2 separate regions of the Homo sapiens genome follow, and region 2 is linked to region 1. The links are contacts of gene promoters, found by promoter capture Hi-C in blood cells and fetal thymus (Javierre and others, 2016). All regions are on one chromosome and are shown on one strand. Each heading gives the region's core, a stretch centred on a gene start or on the middle of the fragment in contact. The rest is flanking DNA. Distances are from core to core; before and after follow the strand shown. Region 1 holds the start of C8orf34 (chromosome 8 open reading frame 34). Region 2 has its middle 65 kb from the start of CPA6.

Region 1 (3,491 bases), core at 268-2,767:
CGTAACCTCCTCCCCATACCAAGCCCTCACCCCAAACCAAGCTGTTAAGAACAGCTACAACTGCTTCTGGGAGACGTGGGGGGCGGGGGCAAGGCGGGGGCAAGGCGGGGGCAAGGCGGGAGCACCTCGACCCTCCCGCGAACTCTCGCCGCCGGTCAGTGCCCCCTGAACTGGATGGGACCAAGGGAGTCCCTCCGCAAGGGCCTCCACTTCTGACTACGGTCCGCACGCCCCACCCCTGCTCAGCACCCTGGCAACCCGCGGGACGCTTTGCTGGTGCCAGGCTTCAATCTCTTGTTCTCATTTTCTCGTGTCCTCGCGCTCTTCCTTCTACTGTATTTTTGTCTTAAATTCTTTAATGGCGAGAGAGAGAAAAAAAAACAAAACCAGCTCAGAGCTATAGTCTTCTTCCACAAATACGTGTGTGCTTTTCAGAACCTTTCTCCGTCCCTTTCTCCTGCTAACACATGTGGGGTCTGCAGTGCAAAGGACTCTCCTTTCGTCCAGTGACCAAATGGCAGTCTCTCAGTTTGCCAATTTCATTCATCACGCCCGCACCGACTGAAGCCTACTCCTCACCAGTTCAGCTGTCTTCCAGTTAATTGTATTAACTGCTAAGCACCTCCTCCACCTTTTCGGGTTCTATTACCGCCCTCATTAAAAAAAAAAAAAAAAAAAAAAAAAAAAAGAAGGAAAGAAAAGAAAAGAAAAAAGAAAATCCAACACGAACACTCAAGATAGCGTGAATTCAAAAAAGAAAGTGTGCGTGTGCAACACAGTCTGAGTGTGTGCATCCGTATGCGTCGCCTGCCTCAGCCTGCCCGGGTCCTGAACATGTAGCTGAGAGGTGCAGGACAGTCAGAGGGCCAAAACTTCCCCTGCCAGGCTGAGGCTGGGCCCTCCCGAGCTCACCTGTCCGCGTTCAGGTAACTGGCTAAGTGCCCGCCCGGCCGCGTTCCAGGACACCTGGCCGGGACAGAGCGAATGCCAGTGAATCCCAGGGCGCCCTCTCCCGCGCGTTGGTTCTCTAGCCCTCCTTCCCTGGGAGGGGTGGGATTGGGAGTGTTCTGTTTTCATTACTGCACCCCTTCCCCTAAAGACAACGGGACTGCCCTCCTCCACAGCGCCTTACCTCAAACAGGGGACCGATCTTGTTCTTCTCCAGGTAAGCCTGGATCCGGGTTTGCGGATGAGACGCCATGGGGAACAGATGGGACCGCGAAGAGAGTGCAGGGAGAACGCGCGGCTGTGCGCCTCCGCTGGGGACAACCCTCCTTTTACCCGGACTGGGGCCGGGACAGGAGCTCCGGAGCCTCGGCTGCCCTGCGTGGCTGGCTCGGCCCCGGCCGCGGGCGTGGGTGGCAGCCCGGGGAGCCACGCGCGCGTGGGGCGCTGAGAGCCGGAAGCCTGGGCGCAGCGCCGCCAACTCAGACAACTCCGAGGCGAGGGGAGAACTCATTCATCGCGTTCTCCGCCTCGCGCCCACCCTCGCCGCTCTCCGCAGCGCCCGGCGCAGTGGGGAAATTCGAGGCAGAGGTTCCTTTCTCCTCTGGGCGGCAGCAGCAGGAATCAGGGGGCGGGAGGCGAGCTGTGTCGAGGGGCGCACGCGGGCGGACAGGGGCCGCGGGGCTCGAACTCGCCACCGGTGTGTGTGCGTGCGTGCGTGTGTGTGTGTGTCCGTGCGCGCGCGACTGTGTGTACCTCCTTTCCCCGGTGACGGAACAAACAGCCCGGGCTGCTCCCCGAGGCTGCTCGCCCTACCAGCCGCTCCCTAGCGACAGCGCCGCTTAAAAAGCCAATGGTGAAGGTGCTTCTTTCAAAGTGCACATAAATCTGGTGCTTGTTGGCTACTCCTTGGCAGCTACAAATGCAGTTCGAAAGGGGATCGTCCCCACCGCCCCTTCTGAGCCTCTCCTCAGCACCTTCTGCCCTGCCTACTCTAGCGCAGGGGTTGAGAAGGGCAGAGTTTTGAGAAGGTGCGTGGGTTTAAGGGTTTGCCGCGAAAAAGAAGTTGCCTTCCTTTTCAAAATCTGGTTTGGCCTGGAGCAAGTCGACGGGTGAACGCAGCCTGAGAACCCAGCTGAAAACTCTCAAAGTGCAGGAGCTCAAAGGCTGGAACCAGCCTTTCAGCATTTGACAGGGAGAAGAGAAATGAGCGAGCCAGCCCTCCCCTCCAAAGTTGGCCTTCCTAATCCACGCCTTGAGTCATGTCTGTATACCTATAACTGCATCTCAGACACCACACTATCCCACTTCATAATGTTTCCTCTAGATACTGCGTGAGCTGCTCAAATTTAGCCAATACCTTTCTTATTATGCAGGGATTTCCGAGTCGAAGGTTTGCAGATAGCCCAGGCTTCCTCACAGAGCTCTCTTTCTTGTGAAATACAATACTAAGGTCCCAATGACAATTTCCCTGGCTCCTAACCATGATGTGCTGCCAAAATTAGATTTATTTCTAATAAATATAAATTTTCAGAATGATGGAAACAGTTTTCCTAAAAGCTGACTGCAGCAGTATATATTTTTTTCTTTCTTTCTTCACTGTGTTCTGGATTTCTGTTACTCATAGTTTCTTTATTGGTGTTCATGTTTTCCTTCTGTATTTTAAATATGTGGAAACATGTAATAGATAAGTGTGGAATATCCCAGGAACTATTATTAATTTCATGCATTAAGACATAAGAAATCTGCTAGAATAGCTAGGAGCTTAACCATCCCTGATAACCTGAAATGGACTTGATCCAGAGTGGAAAGATGTCCACATTAATACTTTTACAATCGGACTCATATGATCTGCCTAGGGAGGGTTAAGTTAAATAGCAGTGAGGTGTCCAGGGTTGCCTCGTGCTTTCCATTTTGGTTCGAAGGTATATTTACTTATGTATTTTTTAATGTGTCCAGGAGAAATTAAATACACAGAGTGAATACCAACATTTCTATTTGCTAAAAGGTATAGCGTAGAGCCATAAGGAAGGCCATCTATGACCCAGCTAAAAAGCCTACTATTTTTGATACCACATAAGGTACCAAGATGGTACGCTTCCTGAAATCAAGAGTCTTTCTCTTTTAAGAGGCATCAGGAGGATGCTTCTTTAAATGAAATAAAGACACTTATTAAGTCTTCACCATGCTCAGACTATTGCACTTAGGGCTTTGAATAGAAGAGACAAAGCTTCAGCTGGCAAAATGTGTATGTTTTAAAGAGAGAATGAAGCCAAGTACAAAGGCTCACGTCTGTAATCCCAATTATGTGGAAGGATCACTTGAGGCCAGCAGTTCAAGACTGGGCAACATAAAAAGACCCCATTTCTAAAACAAATTGTTTTTTTTAATTAGCTGGGCATAGTGGTGCACACTTATAGTTCCAGCTACTGGGAAAACTGAGACAGCAGGACCCTTGAGCTGCAGTTTGAGGCTGCAGTGAACTATGAGTGTGCCACTGCATCTAGGCTGGGCCATACAACAAGACTCAGTCAAAAGAAAGAAAG
Region 2 (3,491 bases), core at 485-2,984, 520 kb after region 1:
GTTGAATGTAAGAAAGCTTCAAGCTCCACTGTTAGGTGATTTTTCCCTTACAGCCACATTTTTCCAACTTTTGCACAATTTGAAAATGTCTTGAGCTTTTATTTTCTTTTTTTTTCCAAGATGTGTTCTCACTAGGCTGTAGTACAGTGGTGCAATCACAGCTCACTGCAGCCTTGACCTCTCAATCTCAAGCAATCCTCCCACTTCAGCCTCCCAAGCAGCTGGGACTACAGGCATGTGTCACCACACCCAGCTAATTTTATTGTGTTGTTATTAGAGAAGAGTTTCACCATATTGCCTAGGCTGGTCTTGAATTCCTGGAGTCAAGCAATCCACCCACCTTGGCCTCTCAAAGTGTTAGAATTATAGGCATGAGCCATGGCGCCTGGCTGAGCTTTTATTTTACTAACACATCTTCTCTATCACTACCTTCCCTGGGAGAAAAGTTGAACTGCTGGAGCCACAAGATAACAAGACATATCTATATATAATTTTTTATCAAGAAAATATTTTATGATTTTTAGTACTTAGCAACACTCTCAATTTCCAGTGTAAATTAGTTTAACCATTGGGAAAGACAGTGTGGTGATTCCTCAAAGACCTAAAGACAGAAATACCATTCAATTCAGCAATCTCATTACCTGCTGTATACCCAAAGGAATAGCTCTTTCTGTCATAAAAATACATGTGTGCATATGTTCATTGCAGCACTATTCACAATAGCAAAGACATGGAATCAACCTAAATGCCCATCAATTATAGAGTGGATACAGAAAATATGACACATATATACCATGGAATACTATGCAGCCACAAAAAAGAATGAATCATGTCCTTTGCAGGAACATGGATGAAGCTAGAGGCCATTTTCCTTAGCAAACTTAGCAAATGCAGGAACAGAAAACCAAATACCACGTGTTCTCACTTATAACTGGAAGCTAAATGATGAGAACACATAGACTACAGGGGAACAACACACATGGGGGCCTATCAGATGGTGAAAAGTGGGAAGAGGGAGAGGATCAGGAAAAATAATGGCTACTAAGCTTAAAAGCTGGGTGACAAAATAATCTGTACAACAAACCCGCATGACACAAGTTTGCCTACATAACAAACCTGCTCGTGTACCCTGAACTTAAAATAAAAGTTTAGTTAAAAGATAAATAAAATGCATTTTTAAATAGAATACATAAAATTTAAAGAAAAAAATAAAAATGACTTGTATGGTCAAAGATGCAGCTGAGGGATTCCAAAATTCCCCAAAAATGTTATCTGCTGTCAACTCTCAGTTTTTCAGATATCGCTTCAAGTGTTGGAACAAAAGAAGTCAGCCCAAGCCCACTTTAAAAAAGCTAAGCCACGTGGGAAGGAGGGAAGGTATTTAAACATCTCCTTTTGTGACATGCACCATTTCTCTAGGCAGAGCGACCTCAAACAGTTCCAATGTGGTGTAATCAATTATGTAAATAAAAATTCTCAGAGAAGTATGGCTATTCTTCTATCTGTACTCATCAAGAATAACAGTATTAATAATTATAACTCAAAGCCCACTCCAAACTTCACAAAACATTCTAATAGTCTCAGTAATTTTAATAGTCTCAAGGCCAAGTAACCCTTGCCTCCTTCCTTATTCTCATAACCATGTGCTGATTTTGCCAAAAATGGAAATGCTTCTTTTCCAACGAATCTAGCCAATGCCCACCTTTGTGTATGAGGAATCAGCTGCCAACATGGTAGGAATTTATGGGTACAAAGAAAAGTATCTTCTTCCAAATCTTTCTGGTACCCCCGTCCCAGGAATTTAGGTTCTATTTCTTTGGCATAAGGGGTTTCTTCATAAACAAAGTGATAATAATAATAGGTACTCACTCTCTGCCAACAAGACAGAGTTGAGATGCATTCAAAGGAGCAGAAACTTAATGGTGCTGGCCACTGGCAAGAGAAGGAAGAATAAAACCTAAAAAGAATGTGGAAAAATGTTAAAGAACAGCTTGCTCACTACACAATTTTTCCAAGGGCCAACTCATTTCAAACCCTATAATTTACCTCTTCTTACCTATTAAAGTGAACATTATGAGATTTTAAAAGGTCTTCTTAGATAAGTAAACAGGCCACTCACCATATTAACCATGTTCTACCCATCAGGTAAATTGCTAACTGTGCAATTCATTGCTTGTAAAGAATAATTAGAAAAATGTTATAGCCGCCAGCAGCATTAAGGGCTCGAATGTTCTGCAAAAGTAAACATACCACTTGAAATGCCATAGAGCTTGGAGTGTGTGCGATACCCTGATAAGGTTTCTAAATGTCATTATTTATTACTGTTTTTCTACAAGGCAATATAGGAACAAAAATCCTTTTATAAATACAAAGGTACTTTCTCTAGGGATTTGGTTCAGGATCTATTTCACATCGAAGCTTGATTCAGAGACAGATATTACTTCCTAAAATTTTCAAGTAACACGATCCCCAAATATTTTACTTTTCAATCAAAATCCAAAATAATATTGTGTGTAGGAGATAATAGACCCTAAGCCAATAAGATGGAGGATGTCAGTAGTAATGCGTATCAGCATTGTTCATCGACCAAGTGCTTTGTCATCGTATCTGTGGCAGAGACTTTAGTTATTTCTAATATTCATGATATCCTTCTTATATAGTATTAACAAAATAATAAGTATTTTTAACAGAGGTCATAACTGCCCAGCAGAAGGTTATGTTTTTAAGACTGCACTTGCAACAAAAGTATGGGAACCTGGCTAACTTCTAGACATGGCAGCATGAATGGAAACGAGGTGTACAACTCTAGGTCTGGTCCTTAAAGGAAAAGCCACACCACTCACTTCCCCTCATCCAGTTCCCACTGACTTGGATTTGGAAATACTCATCGTAGGTCCCATGTGGAAGCTGAATGTTTAAAACTGTCATGCAATAAGATAGGAGCCTGGACTCTGAGGAAGGTACACCCACCATACCAAGCCTGAACTTCTCATTAGGACTTTTGCATTACAAAGAAATCAACTTTAATCTTGCTTCAGTGGCAATTATTTTGGATCTGCCATTAGCATCAACCCAAATCTCTCAATCCATCTTCACAGCAATCCTAAAAGGAAAATGCTATTTTCCGTCTTACAAATCAGGAAAAATTTTAAAGCCTGTTCTCCTGCCAGAACCATTAGCTGACAACCCTAAGTTGAAAACTCAAAACCAACTTTCCGCTATACCATTGAAACCCTTACCAGGCTGAGACAGTGTAACTCTAGGCCTAGGTTTTTATGACCTGGGAACATCTGTGTTTCTCTCGTTTCAGCCTCAATTTTGTTACCTGTAAAGTCTTGTGCCACGCTAGGAATTTAAAGTAAAATAGGATTAATACAGAAATTTTATCATTCTTACATATTATCATTCTTACAAAAGTCTGAAAGCTCTGAAATTGCTGCCACTGGATTTTGGGTTTTAAGGCCACATCAACCTTAGATGTCGTCAGGAAA

The links. The method cuts DNA at HindIII sites, captures the fragments that hold promoters and counts their contacts. A CHiCAGO score of 5 or more calls a contact.
Region 2: a contact is called between a fragment that was not itself captured here and the fragment with the promoter of C8orf34 in region 1, in 2 of 17 cell types (M2 macrophages and endothelial precursors). The highest score is 7.9, in M2 macrophages.

The regions. Positions count from the first base shown.
Region 1 is chr8:68,328,981-68,332,471 of GRCh38, reverse strand. It overlaps C8orf34 (chromosome 8 open reading frame 34), which reads right to left and starts at 1,517. Exons shown (of 14, transcript NM_052958.4): 1 at 1,133-1,517. The coding sequence starts at 1,459. It overlaps C8orf34-AS1 (C8orf34 antisense RNA 1), which reads left to right and starts at 981. Exons shown (of 3, transcript NR_038877.1): 1 at 981-1,165. The HindIII fragment of the contact is 3,988 bases long and covers 1-3,177 here.
Region 2 is chr8:67,809,530-67,813,020 of GRCh38, reverse strand. No RefSeq gene overlaps it. Among named protein-coding and RNA genes, the nearest start is that of CPA6, 65 kb to the right of the region's middle. The HindIII fragment of the contact is 1,372 bases long and covers 1,049-2,420 here.